5 separate regions of the Homo sapiens genome follow, and all the other regions are linked to region 1. Evidence: promoter capture Hi-C in 16 types of primary human blood cells and fetal thymus (Javierre and others, 2016). All regions are on one chromosome and are shown on one strand. The core of a region is centred on a gene start or on the middle of the fragment in contact, and the rest is flanking DNA. Distances in the headings are between cores, read along the strand shown.

Region 1 (2,824 bases), core at 201-2,700:
ACTGGGATGGTTATTTCAAGTACAAAACGTTTTCACACCGTGGGTGATAATCTTCCATAAAAAATTTCATATTTGAATGAAAACAGCTCAAGAAATACACTAATGAGCAAAAATATATGGGGAAAGAGGAACGTGTAGTTTTGACTTAACTGAAGAAACCAAGAGGAAACTGGTCTCCATATGAAAATGTGATCCTGGAAAGTCAGGTGTCAAGATTTTCGAGTAGGAATCTACATGACTTGAATCTCCCTTACTTCCTGAATAAAAGTGACATCTTTCAGTATTTATTTAAAAAAATCATATGTCAGTGGAGCTTCCAGGTAAATTATCTTTAAAAAATCATATTTGAGTGGAGCTTCCAGGTAAATTATCTTCCTCTTTTAAGGGAGCTCCCTGTATTTCTAGCGGCTTTAACTGATATCCCTTTCAGTGAGAAATCCTCATTAGCTACATAAGAGGGGACTGGGTGTTTTTTTCAAAAAGCTGGTATTGGGACATCTACCTCTGTGATGTCCCTGGTCAGCTATATTGTCTAGGAGTTGAAACATTTTGTATTAATTTTCTATCATTTACTGGGTGCCTCTTCTGTGACAGTGCCACTCAAAGGTCTATTGATATATTATCAGGTGACTGAATTCTATATTCTGAAGTAGGAGATACTGTTATTGCTGTTATTACATTTTACACATAAGAAAGCTGAGGCTCTGAGAGGTCAAGATCACGCAGCTAACAAATGAGCCAAGACTCTTGCTTTAGAGCTTGTCCTCTATTCTTGCTTTTCTTTCCAAAAAACACTACAATTTTTGTTTTGTTTTGTTTTGTTTTGAGACAGGGTCTCGAGGTGTCACCCAGGCTGGAGTGCAGTGGCGCGATTTCGACTCACCGCAACCTCCGCCTCCGCGCTTAAGCGATTCTCCTGCCTCAGCCTCCCAAGTAGCTGGGACTACAAGCTCGGGACACCACGTAAAAATGATCAAGTTCTAACATGTATGCATACGAATTACAATGGAAATAAAATTAGCAAAGCGCTTATGCTAATGCTCAATACAATTGATTTCCTCACATTTAATCCTCACAACCACTACAACCACCTCTAACTCAAGCTCTGAGGGACTGACGTGCCCGGAGGACACAGCTCTTATCTGGTGAGAACAGGAGCGTTTTAGCGAAACTCCAAACTCCTAGGTCCCGCCTTCCCCAGGAAGGCTTTTCCTGGCACTGTGCTTCCGGAAGTCCCGCCCCAGGAGAAAAACAGCTTCCGGAAAAAATTGCGGCCGGCAAACCGGAACAGAACTAGGGGCGGGGCCGCTTGAGACGCTCTAGTATTCCTCTACTCTATGGCCACTGTCAATTGACAAGTCCCGAGCGGTAAAGCTCCTTTCTATTGGATGAGCAGCCTCGCGTAGGCGGGAAGCTCGGTGCACGGCGCGCTGATTGGCTGGATCCGCCATGCGGAGCGGCTAGGTGGTGCACGGGAAACGCGGGCGTAGGTGACCGGCGGCTTTCTCAGTTTTGGTGGAGACGGGCGCATGTGGGCGCTTTGCTCGCTGCTGCGGTCCGCGGCCGGACGCACCATGTCGCAGGGACGCACCATATCGCAGGCACCCGCCCGCCGCGAGCGGCCGCGCAAGGACCCGCTGCGGCACCTGCGCACGCGAGAGAAGCGCGGACCGTCGGGGTGCTCCGGCGGCCCAAACACCGTGTACCTGCAGGTGGTGGCAGCGGGTAGCCGGGACTCGGGCGCCGCGCTCTACGTCTTCTCCGAGTTCAACCGGTCAGTCAACGAGCCACGCCCCGTCCCGCTGGGCCCTCAGTGCGGCGCAGCCTCTGAGCATCGGGGCACCTCCCAGGGCTTCGGCTTCCCTGCTTCACACATGTGGTTCACTGTTGCGGGGGTTCGTGGAGTTATGGTGGGTGGGAAATCCGAGATTCTTTGCATCCATGTGATTTCTGCGGATCTGTGAAGAACTTCAGGCCTGGGTCTGAGCGTCCTTTTCCCAACCCTTGGGCCCCGGCCTGGCTGTCAGCACTTTCGGAGCTCCACCCTCTTCCGTGCACCCCAAGGCCAGTGTGTCGTTGTTAGCGTGTGGGGTGGACAGATCTGGTGTGTAGCCGGTGGTGGAGAAAGGACTCATTTTGTCCTAGCACCCACACACACAGGCCCCCACTCCTCTCCACCTCTGCTAAGGAGGGCTCAAAACCCACCAGCATAAATGTGGCTCGGTAGTCCAACGTGGACTTTTAATTTTTTTTTCTTTTTTTTTTTTCCAGAGTCTACAATAAAACATCTAATTGGTGTCAGAGAGTTTACAGAATAAAACCTTCTGAATGTCTTGTGTAATGTTTGTCTTGTAGGTATCTCTTCAACTGTGGAGAAGGCGTTCAGAGACTCATGCAGGAGCACAAGTGAGTCAGTCTCTTGCTTTCGGAGGGGGAGTTGATTACGGGGCTTGAAAGCCGAAATGAGAGGCCAGTTGTTTTTTATAGCAAAAGTGGTCCTTGTTCTGTTCATGTTATCCTGTTTAAATGTTTTTTCATTCTTAGGTTAAAGGTTGCTCGCCTGGACAACATATTCCTGACACGAATGCACTGGTCTAATGTTGGGGGCTTAAGTGGTGAGTATATTCTTTGCAGTGTCAGAGGCTGGTGGGAAGTCTCTGGGATTTTAACCGGCTTTACCATTTTTCCAAGTCTGGGGTGGGCAGCTACTTTTTTTTTTTTTTTTTTTTTTGTCAGTGGCGTGATCTTGGCTCACTGCAACCTTTGCCTTCTGGGCTCAGGTGATCCCCTCACCTCAGCCTCCCAAATAGCTGGGACCACACGT
Region 2 (2,824 bases), core at 127-2,626, 2.4 Mb after region 1:
GTTTATTTTATTTTATTTATTTATTTTGAGATAGGGTCTCACTCTGATGCCCAGGCTGGGGTGCAGTGGCACAAGCACAGCTCACTTGTAGTCTTGACCTTTCTGGGTTCAAGTAATCCTCCAGCCCCAGCCTCCCGAGTGGCTGCGACTACAGGTGCATGCCCCCACACCAGGCTACCTTTTGTGTTTTTTGTAGAGATGAGGTTTCACCATGTTGCCCAGGTTGGTCTTGAACTCCTGGGCTCAAGCAATTTGCCCGACTCGGCCTCCCACAGTGCTGGGATTATAGGTGTGAGCCACTGCACTTTGCCAGGAAAAGCTTATTTTAGAAATGGGATGTGGCTATCTGGGCAGTGACATGCCAATTTGAAAACCTAATCAAATGGAGGGCAACAAGATTAGACCACTCCTGACCAGCTCTGGTTTATAAAAACCTTCTGAGCAACTGAACACCTAACTGTCCTTTGGCGCCCCCTTGTGTTCTGGCACAGAAACAACCTATGGCCAAATGCGACGCCAAAGCAAACAGAATAATCAAGCCCACGGAGGCACTGCACACTGCCCCTTGTCTGCCCCTCACAGAGGTCTCCATGCACACTGCTTCTTTGCTCTTTGGCTGTATTTGCTCAGCCTTCTGGTCTCCAGCTTGGAAACAGGCTGCTGCTTTTCAACAGATTTTAGAAAAGGCTATGATTATACCAAACCACCTGGGTTGGCTCTCGTCCTGACCCGCACTCAGCCAGTTTTCCCTATTAACTTCTCCCAGCCGACACTGATATGCACCATTAGCGTGCAAGGCAAGGGAATTTAAAGGTTCTCTCTAGGGTCCTTCATCTCCATTGTGTGGGAGACTGAAAAGTCTTCCCTGGACTATATTTTCCATGACAGCCTGAGTATTGTGGAACTGTCTAAAAGATTTTTAATTCTAAGTTCAATTTAGGATCCAGCGGTAAAAGTTCCAGCCCAGGGTGCAGGAGCTCAAGTCCACTGGGTGGGTTTTTTCTTTGCATCTGCATAACCTCCTGGAACTATTTGTCATTTCAGAGCTGCTGCTTATTACGACCAACCCTTACGACTACCCGTTCATTAGCCAGGGGGAGATCCTGGTGGCCAGCATAGATGATGCAGAGGAGCTGCTGGCTACAGACGTAAGTGGAACCAACAGAAGGGGTGGGTGTTCCTCCTCCATCACTGGGGCCAACTGACTGACGTGCTGCCCTTTCCATGCCAGAGCGCCATTGACATCCTGGGCTTCACCCCAGAAGAGAAATCTGGGCTCTACAAGCTGACGGGAGCCGTGATGCACTACGGGAACATGAAGTTCAAGCAGAAGCAGCGAGAGGAGCAGGCCGAGCCGGATGGCACAGAAGGTACAAAATCAGTGTGACAGCAAACCAGAGCGGGTGGCTGATCTGCTGAGGTCACTTGGTACTGCTTTTGAAAGCAATTAATCCAGCCAGGCACAGTGGCTCACACCTGTAATCCCAGCACTTTGGGAGGCTGAGGGGGCCAGATCACCTGAGGTCAGGAGTTCGAGACCAGCATGGCCAACATGGTGAAACCCCATCTCTACTAAAAAAAATTAGCTGGGCATGGTGGAGCATGCCTATAATCCCAGCTACTCAGGAGGCTGAGGCACGAGAGTCAGACAGAGTTTTGCTCTGTCATCCAGGCTAGAGTGCAGTGGCATGATCTCAGCTCACTGCAACCTCTGCTGCCTGGGTTCAAGTGATTCTCCTGCCTCAGCCTCCCGAGTAGCTGGGATTACAGGCACACACCACCGCGCCTGGCTAACTTTTTTGTATTTTTAGTAGAAACGGGGTTTCACCATGTTGGCCAGGCTCAAACTCCTGACCTCAAATGATTCGCCTGCCTTGGCATCCCAAAGTGCTGTGATTACGGGTGTGAGCCACTGTGCCCTGCCGGCATGAGAGTTTCTTGAACCCAGGAGGCAGAGGTTGCAGTGCACTGAGATCGTGCCACTGCACTCCAGCCTGGGCAACACAGTAAGACTGTCTCAAAAAAAAAAAAATGGATGGAAGCGATTAATCCTTCCATCTGGAGAAGTGAATGACCCTTTCTGGGCCTCCGATGCCCATAGCTATTGTTACCACTCGCTTTTCCTGAATCACTCGAATAGTCTTGTTTCAGATGCAGTGAGGGATGACCAGGGCTTTCTGAGACCCAGCCCTGGCTTTTCATAAAGTCCATTATATTCTCTGAGTGACTTAGCTTCCATTGGCCATGTATATGCAGTTTAGCCACAGGGAATGCACAATGTACCAAGATGAACTTAACCAACCTTTGAAACTTCTGGATGATTTTCAAAGCAGCTCTTCTACTTTTCTAAGCACTGTCCTTGTTTTCTTGCCAGTGGCTGACAAAACAGCCTATCTGATGGGCCTGAACTCTTCGGACCTCCTAAAAGCTTTGTGCTTTCCTAGAGTGAAAGTTGGGAATGAGTACGTTACCAAAGGTCAAACTGTGGATCAGGTAACAGCTTCAAGGCCGGGAAAGGGTGCAGGACCCTGCTGGCCACTTCCTTCATATCCAGTAGCTGATCTTTCCCCTGATAGGTTCACCATGCTGTGAATGCTCTTTCAAAATCAGTTTATGAAAAGTTGTTCTTGTGGATGGTCACTCGCATTAACCAGCAACTGGATACGAAGCTTCCAAGACAACACTTCATTGGTGTTTTGGACATTGCAGGCTTTGAAATCTTTGAGGTTTGTGTTACTTATATTCATATTTTCATATGGCTTCATATGAGGGAAATTGGTTTCATGATCCTAAAGGGAAGATAGCAAGATGGCGGCTGTCTTAG
Region 3 (2,824 bases), core at 212-2,711, 2.3 Mb after region 1:
AGACTCACAGGAAGAAAGTGGCAGTAGAGCTGCTTTACAACTGATACATTTTTTGAAGTAGAGATGGTTGTTTTACTGGCTTCTCATTTTTCACTGTCTCTCTCATTTTTTATTTAGAATTTTCTCCCAAACTGGTTGGCTTGACTGGCACGAGAGAAGAGGTCGATCAAGTGGCCAGAGCATACAGAGTGTATTACAGCCCTGGCCCCAAGGACGAAGATGAAGACTACATAGTGAGTAAATGTTCCAGTTTTAACCCATGGACCAGCTCCCAGATCCCAAATAGTCATAAGGCTTTCAATGACTGACTAGCTTCTGAGAAGAGAGAATACCTAAGATTATTGCAAAGTCCTTAGGAATTTTTTTTTTTTTTTTTTTGAGATGGAGTCTCATTCTGTCATCCAGGCTGGAGTGCAGTGGCACAATCTTCGCTCACTGCAACCTCCGCCTCCCAGATTCAAGCAATTCTCCTATGTCAGCCTCCCGAGTAGCTGGGATTACAGGTGCGCGCCACCACACCTGGCTACTTTTTTATATTTTTTGGTAGAGACGGGGTTTCACCACGTTGGCCAGGCTGGTCTCGAACTCCTGACCTTACCCGCCTCAGCCTCCCAAAGTACTGGGATTACAGACGTGAGCCACCGCATCCAGCCTCCTTAGGAATTTTGAATATTTGAAAGGATAATAGAAGCATGTTTTTTACTTTTTATTTATTTTCGAGACGGAGTCTCACTCCGTCAGCCAGGCTGGAGTGCAGTGGTGCGATCTTGGCTCACTTCGACCTCCGCCTCCCGGATTCAAGCAATTCTCCTCCCTCAGCCTCTCGCGTAGCTGGGATTACAGGCATGTGCTCCCACGCCTGGCTAGTTTTTGTATTTTTAGTAGAGAAGGAGTTTTGCCATGTTGGCCAGGCGAGGCCAGGGGGTCTCGAATTCCTGACCTCAGGTGGTCTGCCCTGCCCACCTCAGCCTCCCAAAGTGCTGGGATTACAGGCCTGAGCCACTGCGCCCAGCCAGAAGCAGTTTTTTAAAAGATGATTGTTTGATTTATATTCACTGTTCTCATAATTCAATTGCCTGTTTTTCTCTTATAGTGGCATATAGGATTTTAGGGCAGTTTAAAACCAGATACTTGGGTGCCATGTTGGAAATAAAGAGAAGCCATCATTTGGAACAACACTTATTTTAAAAAGATTGTGTTGGTTCTCACTGTGTCCCCAGTAGAGGTATCAGAAATTGCTCTTCTGGAGAACCAGTTTTAGGCCATGGAGAACTGCATTTTTAGGTTGAATGAGAATTCTGAAAAGCAAAAGATGAAAGGTTTATTTGCCCATTGACTATATGCCTTGGACAGTTAGGCGTTAAATATGTGCTTTTTAATGATAAGGAACAGAAATTCTGTTGTACTTGTGTAGCTCTTAAATTAACTATCTTCATATTCATCAGCACTGCCCCAGAAGCCTTAAGGTCATGCCCAAGTTACTGTGTTTCTTTTCTTGTCAGTGGTTTCACAGTGAAGCACCAAAAGGCATTAGCACCACCACTATCCACCAATTTTCCTCTCAATTTGGACATTTTTCTCCTATCATATGAAGAGTCGGCGTTGTATTTTAGCATTATTTCAGTATTTTTCTTAGTTGTCATACTCTGTTTTTTCTATAATATTGTTTGGGCAGAGTAATCCTAAGAGCCTTTCTAGCTGTGAAGCTGTCTTTGTAGAAAGAAAGATGGCCAAGACCCTGAGTCACTGATCCAGCAGCTCCCCATGGCCCATCCCAAGAGTTGAGATGCAGAGGGGATGGGATGTCTCACTGCAGTGCTTTGTCTCAACAGCCAACTATGATTTCTTTGTCCCTTTGAACCTGGAACGTGTGTGCCCCTGGAGCCTACAGCCTGAATTAAAAGCAAGGTTCTGGCCTGTTTGCCTTAATTAAGCCTACACAGTAATCCTGTCTTCCAGATGTGGTGCCTCGTAGAATTAGGGAAACTTGGATTCCTTGGAGTAAAAGATGAGAAAAATGAGCACTTTTCTTTAAGCCTTAATTGTAAGGAAAGTAGAGGGACCCTCCTCTGTTTTCCTCTTGCTGCTTCTCTAGCAGAATGAGAGAAGAGCAGAGAGCCACAGTGGCCAAAAGAGGAAACCATAGGAAAAGGACTTTCCGGACTTCTGTCTTTATAGAGAGTTGTATTAACTGGTTTTGAGTTTATCCGATGATGACAGCAGGAATAGATGAGCTCATCAGTCTGATTTCCAGCATTAAATGAGTTATATTAAATTGTTTAAATGTATACAGTCCTAAACTAGGTAACACTCCATAGTCTTGATGCTTAGAACTCATAACTCAGAGTCAGAAAGTCAAATCAGAAAGCAGTTGTACAAATAAACCCAAACAGCCTGCAAAACTTAAATTGAAAACATTCAGTTACATTGACAAGAGATTTTGCTGAAACCAAAGTGCTGCTCAGGGCAAGAAGGGAGGGGGTTTTGGTCAGACTGCTATCACATACCCAACTCTACTCAACTGCCCCTCTGCATTTTCTATTTAAAATACTTTGAAACCTTTAATCGTGTAGCCTGCCTTGCCTGGTTAGTGTTGATTTGGCAAGAATGTATCATATTCATGTCTGCCTGTAACAGCAGTGGGCAGCTAGGTGCCAGTGAGATCATGGAGCAAACACAAGCCTGGGCACTGAAATTTATACTCACAACACAGATAATCCAGAATATGGATATTAATGTTTTTAATTACAAATGAAAACAAAAATATGTAAGTCTTATGGAAACTTCTTGGACCTTGTAGAATGTATCTTTGGCCCCATTTTGA
Region 4 (2,824 bases), core at 85-2,584, 2.3 Mb after region 1:
TACATAAAAGTATGATGGAGGAACTGAAGAGTATAATTGATGACAGTGAAATTACCAAAGAGGATGATGCGTTATGGCCTCCTCCCAACCGAGAGGGCCGGCAGGAGCTTGAAATCATTATTGGAGATGAACACATTTCTTTTACAACATCAAAAATTGGTTCCCTTATTGATGTCAGTCAATCCAAGGATCCAGAAGGCTTATGAGTATTTTATTATCCTGTCCAGGACCCTGAAGTGTTTGGTCTTCAGTCTTACTGGATTACACTTCAAGATTAAACCAATCTAAACTGAATATTGATGTGGACATGGGGGGGTGGGAGTAGTTTTTAATTACCATTATCAAGAACATTTTGTGTCAGGGCAGTATATTTTTATAAACTATAAATGATTATCTTTAATAAATATGTGATAAAATTTAAAAAAAGCAAAACAAAACTTCTAGAGAATACCTTCAAAACCTTGGTGAGGGAAATTCTTAAACAGCACAAAAATCATTAGGAAAAGATCAACTTTAACATTGTCAAATTAATCAATGACTTCTCTTCCTCAAAAGACATCAAATGGGACAAGGTATTTGTAACACATATAAACAAGGATTTATATTTAGCATATATATAAATAATTTCTATAAATCAATGTTATATTTCAATAAAACAACTGAGATGAGAACATACTAAAATGTAATTATGTGTTTTATCAATTCAGTCTTTATACTTGTTTCCAAAGCAATCCATGATTTTTATTTATAATAATTTTTGTGTCTTTATAGGAATCCAGTTGGTGGAAGAATTCAATTGGCTATTGCCATTGTAATCACACTTTTCCCATTTATCTCATGGGTCTACATATATATTAACAAGGAAATGCGGTCCTCTTGGCCAACTCACTGCAAGACAGTAATTTAAATAAATTCAAGAACTTCGTTTTTAAAATGAATATTTTCAATCAATTTTTTATAAACATTAGGGGAACAAGCCAGGAGTTTATTTCAGGTAATTTGGGCTAATAGTTTTAAAACTCCAAATAACTTTTTAAGGGTGCATATAATTCGATGTAAGATTGGATGGGACAAGTAAGAGATGGTCTGATATTTTCCAGACGACTTTCTGCAGGGTCTTGTGTCATAATGTAGTGGAAAAGGCTAGAGAATAGAAGTTTAAAAATACGAGTTCTAACTTAACTTTGTAACTATGTAATTTGGGCAAATATATAAACCTCCTGGTGGATATTTATCTATAAAATAGGATTAATGCCAGATCTACTTACTTACACAGTAACAAGGATCAATCTAGATAATGTAAGAACACTCTGAAGATATAAAGTGTTTGGAAAGATTACGGAGGGCTGCCCATGATTAAAATAGAGGGGAGCAGGGATTGGGTAATATACTGAAATAGACATTCAAGAGAGGGCTATACCCCGATCTTTTTTTTTTTTTAAGACAGTCCCACTCTATTGCCCAGGCTGGAGTGCAGTGGCATGATCATGGCTCACTGCAGTCCTGACCTCCCGGGGCTCAGGTGATCCTCCTACCTCAGCCTCCCAAGAAGCTACGACTACAAGTGTGCACCACCATGCCCGGCTAAATTTTTTTAAATTTTTTGTAGAGGCAGGGTTTCACCGTGTTGTCCAGGCTGGTCTTGAATTCCTGAGTTCAAGCGATCTGTCCACCTTGGCCTCCCAAAGTGCTGGGATTACAGGTGTGAGCCACCATGCCCAGTCCAGCCCTAAACTAATCTTATCCAGAGCTGGCATAGTGCAGTGAACTAAAGGAGAACTCTAGATGAATCAAATGAGCAGGCATGTCTTGGAAAGAAAGGGAAGCTGGATAGAATAAAGGAATTAGGGACCAAACAAGAAGGCAATAGGGACTATAACTACATTCTAAATGAGAAATAAGGTCAAAATCTATATACATTCTTTATAAATGGATGTCCAAAGTAATCCTAGGGAGGAGAGCTTTTTTTTTTTTCATTTCCATTTTCATTTAAAAATGGATACTTGATTATTGGAAAACTTACAATTGTGTTTGGAACAACTTGGGTATTTGAATCTAATTTTCCAATTGCAAATTTTATGATACCTAAATACAGATAAAGTATTTCCAATGAAAATTTAGTGTCCAAATGAGTGGGGCTATAAATGTAAAATACACTGGATTTTAAAGACATGGTAGAAAAAGAACAGAAAATATTTTTTGTATTGATTACATGTTGAAACAATATTTTGGCTATAATGGGTTAAATATACTATTAAAGTTGATTTTATCTGTTTCTGTTTACTTTTATTTACGTGGCTTACATTGCATTTCTGTTGGACAGTCCTGTATTTAAGTATCTAGATGGCAACATTTTACATACACAAGCATCAAACTCTGTGGTCAGATACTGTTTTTTCTGATCTAGGAAAGAGATCTGGGAAATACTTCACTCAAAAAGAACGAGTAGTGCCTTCCACAGGTTAGGAGAGTGTAAATGAGTCTGGTAGTTTGTCTATTTTTATTGTCTTTATTACTATAGTAAATATTCTATAAATATTTGTTAAAGGAGGTATGTGTATTTTGTTTTTGTTATTGGCACAGTGGCCACTGAATGGTGAGAAATTATCTAAGATTAAGACTTGAATGAGTAAAAAGGGGGAAAACAAATCTAGTTGATATTAAAACAGTCAAAGTGAAACTTAAGGGTCAGTAAAATACACATAAAGGATTTGAGTTTTCCAGTGTATATTTTGCTTACATATTTGTGGCTTTTATAACTCCTTTAGTATTAATAAACTACTGAAGTCACATGCAAAAAAAAAACAGACTCATTTGCAAATTC
Region 5 (2,824 bases), core at 197-2,696, 2.2 Mb before region 1:
AGTTTGTTTTTAATGTCTAATTTCTGTTTGCCTTTAGGTATATGTTGAGCCTACATCATTTCTGCTTCTATATTTATTGAGATATTCTTTGTTGCCCTTATAGTCAGTTTGAAAAGCTGTCCCATGTGTGTTTGAAAATAACTTTGCTATATAGACACAAGTTTTCTATACATCTATTAGGACAGATTTGTTAATCCTCTTATGTAATCTATATTCTTTCTTCTTTTTGGTCTACCTGACATCTATTTTGAGGAAGGAAGCTAAAGTCTTCTACTGTTATTGTGATTTTAACAATTTCTTCTCATATTTTGATTACTTTTTGATTTTAACTTTTTCAGGCCATGTTATTATATGCATAATGATTTATTTTCTTCAGTCATAGATCATGTAAACCAGAAGTAAAGATCAAATAAACCAAATCTTTCCTCTATGAAACAACCAAACAACTCTCTGGCCACTTTTATCCTTTCAACATAAGTTCTATTTTTTATTATTAATTTATCTTCTTTCTTTTTTGTTAACATTTGCCTGAAGCTTCTTTTCAGAATCTTTTTTGTTTTTGACTGTTGCTTGTTTTAGGTGTATCTATTATATTAGAATATAGCTACAATGTCTCTCTTTTTTTTTTTTTTTTTTTTTTTTGAGACAGAGTCTCTCTCTGTGCCCAGGCTGGAGTGCAGTGGTGTGATCTTGGCTCACTACAACCTCCACCTCCTGAGTTCAAGCGATTCTCTGCCTCAACCTCCCAAGTAGCTGGGACTATAGGTGTCCACCAGCACACCTGGCCAATTTTTTTGTATTTTTCGTAGAGATGGGGTTTTGGCATGTTGGCCAGGCTGGTCTTGAACTCCTGGCCTCAAGTGATCTACCTGCCTCAGCCTCCCAAAATGTCTTAATCAAAGATAAAATTCCATATCTTATGAGTGCCTTGAACCCATTCACATATAATGTGGTTGATGATAGACTTACTATCTTAATGCATGTGTTTTATTTATTGTGCTTATGGTTGAAAACCATCTTCTTCATCTCTGGATCATCAGAGTCAACCAGAGGGCTTGGCTCAAAGCAGTAGGTATTCAACAAATGCTCATTGAATAAAAATGTCCTTGATCCTCTAATTCTGATTTGATTCGAGAAATAACTTATGGCAAAGAGCTCAATTGTAATGGGGTTGGGACTAAAATTCAAGTTAATGTTGAAAGATGTTTCAAGAAGTATTTAGGTTATATTATTAAATATTAGACACTTTCTGTTTATATAGATTTAACATATAAAGATTTTAAGTTTTCTGTGTATGTGAGGTCTCGTAGTAGTTTCTGCTGAAAATGACAGGGGCGCGGGGTTAAGGGTGAAGACAGTATCTCAGGATTGGAGAAGGAAATCTAAGATATTGTCTCCACCAGCCATACTCCTCATGAACATGCACATGGAAGGACATTTCCCAGCCAAAGTGAATCCCTTTATTTGTTTTAGTTTCAGATTTGAGTCTCAGATTTCTTTGTAATTCCAGCTGCATCTACCAAAGTGCTAGATAATTTTTTTATTTTAAGCAAACAATATTATGAGAACATTATCTTTATTGCAAAGTGCTCCTCCAGAAGAACCTCTATGCTGGATAAAGACAAACATTTGATTAAGGTTATGTAAGAGTGAAATCAGGATGGCTCACAACCCATTAGCCGTCATTTTCTTACTTTAATTGACAAAGAAATTGAAAAAATGAAAGAAGCATATGTTGTGCTTGAATGTGAAGAGTGCTAGACTAGAATCAAAGGCCTCTTAGATTTGGCTGTGTCATTTGGGCTCATGAAAACACCTCTGGAAATCTCTTTCAGTGCAAAGGAGCTGGACTAGTTGATCTCTCAGGTTTCTTCCAACTCTAAAATATCTCCAGTCTGTGCCTTGGAAACATCTTAGGTGAAAATCTAGGAACAGTTAACCTAATTTGCACCCTTAAAATTCTGCCATGAGCTGCTTACAACTCAAAACAAGTTTATCTTACTCAGTTACTAATTATAAACCATCCAGATTTCAGAGCTGTGAGTACTGGGTGAAGCATTGAAGGTATGCTTTTGAAGCCATTACATATGGCAGTTACTGAGCTGAAAGGATTAAATGCTGCAGCTTCCCCAGTTGCCCTTCCTCCATGAGAGCAGTGCCTGCCCCCAGCATTCTGTGGCACTTGGAAGACAAGACAGAGGCCAAATGCAGATTTTTACCCTGGGCTTCCCTCTACAGTGTGGAACTCAGGTTGTTTCTTCTTTCCTCCCTGAAATGACATGAGTTTGCAGCGGATGGTGAACTGAAGAAACCATAGGAGGCTCTGTCTTCTTGCCTGAATTTCAGTTGGAAGCTTGGAGATTTGGGGTTCAACAGAGATAAGGAAGTGTAAGCCTTCATCCCGTCTGGTGGTTGGCGATCACACACCGCTCTGTGCTGAGGCTAATGGCCATGATCAGAGTTGACCAAAAAAAAAAAAAAAAAAAAATACGGGTTGTCCAAGCAAATTGATTTCCATACCTATAGAGAGCATACCTTTCTTCATCAGTATTTTCTTCCATTCTTCCAAAAAATTACTTTGGGCTCTAACAGCCATTCCCGTGATCTTTACCTCTCCTTGGGGAATGCAGATAATTTGAATAGTGGTTTTAAGCTATTTTTCTTGGAATACAGAAGTTCTGATAAGCCCTTCAAAGACCCCTGAGGGCAAGAAGAGGGAAGGTAGTAGGCAGGGCTCAGGCCCTCTTTAACACAGACACATGTACATAAGTAACACATTTGCACCAACACTGGAAGGAAATTCAATATATTTTAAAATGACTTT

Evidence for each region. Contacts are between HindIII fragments. The CHiCAGO score rates a contact against its expected background, and 5 or more counts as called.
Region 2: a fragment that was not itself captured here is called in contact with the fragment with the promoter of ELAC2 in region 1 in 1 of 17 cell types (neutrophils); the score reaches 6.1 in neutrophils.
Region 3: a fragment that was not itself captured here is called in contact with the fragment with the promoter of ELAC2 in region 1 in 1 of 17 cell types (neutrophils); the score reaches 14.3 in neutrophils.
Region 4: a fragment that was not itself captured here is called in contact with the fragment with the promoter of ELAC2 in region 1 in 1 of 17 cell types (neutrophils); the score reaches 5.6 in neutrophils.
Region 5: a fragment that was not itself captured here is called in contact with the fragment with the promoter of ELAC2 in region 1 in 1 of 17 cell types (monocytes); the score reaches 6.6 in monocytes.

The regions. Positions count from the first base shown.
Region 1 is chr17:13,016,653-13,019,476 of GRCh38, reverse strand. ELAC2 (elaC ribonuclease Z 2) reads left to right here and starts at 1,450. Exons shown (of 24, transcript NM_018127.7): 1 at 1,450-1,774; 2 at 2,356-2,406; 3 at 2,545-2,615. The coding sequence starts at 1,530. RefSeq lists a silencer at 1,333-1,412 and enhancers at 1,933-1,992, 2,013-2,122, 1,634-2,134. The HindIII fragment of the contact is 8,738 bases long and covers 1-2,824 here.
Region 2 is chr17:10,644,253-10,647,076 of GRCh38, reverse strand. MYH3 (myosin heavy chain 3) reads left to right here. Exons shown (of 41, transcript NM_002470.4): 11 at 1,045-1,148; 12 at 1,232-1,370; 13 at 2,375-2,493; 14 at 2,577-2,726. Among named protein-coding and RNA genes, the nearest start is that of MYH3, 12 kb to the left of the region's middle. The HindIII fragment of the contact is 2,109 bases long and covers 322-2,430 here.
Region 3 is chr17:10,684,136-10,686,959 of GRCh38, reverse strand. SCO1 (synthesis of cytochrome C oxidase 1) reads left to right here. Exons shown (of 6, transcript NM_004589.4): 5 at 118-233. Among named protein-coding and RNA genes, the nearest start is that of SCO1, 12 kb to the left of the region's middle. The HindIII fragment of the contact is 3,317 bases long and covers 1-2,824 here.
Region 4 is chr17:10,713,536-10,716,359 of GRCh38, reverse strand. TMEM220 (transmembrane protein 220) reads left to right here. Exons shown (of 6, transcript NM_001004313.3): 6 at 772-2,824. The coding sequence ends at 907. It also overlaps the pseudogene MAGOH2P. Among named protein-coding and RNA genes, the nearest start is that of TMEM220-AS1, 15 kb to the left of the region's middle. The HindIII fragment of the contact is 7,044 bases long and covers 1-2,824 here.
Region 5 is chr17:15,240,070-15,242,893 of GRCh38, reverse strand. The region is part of intron 3 of PMP22 (peripheral myelin protein 22); the gene reads left to right. Among named protein-coding and RNA genes, the nearest start is that of MIR4731, 10 kb to the left of the region's middle. The HindIII fragment of the contact is 1,819 bases long and covers 537-2,355 here.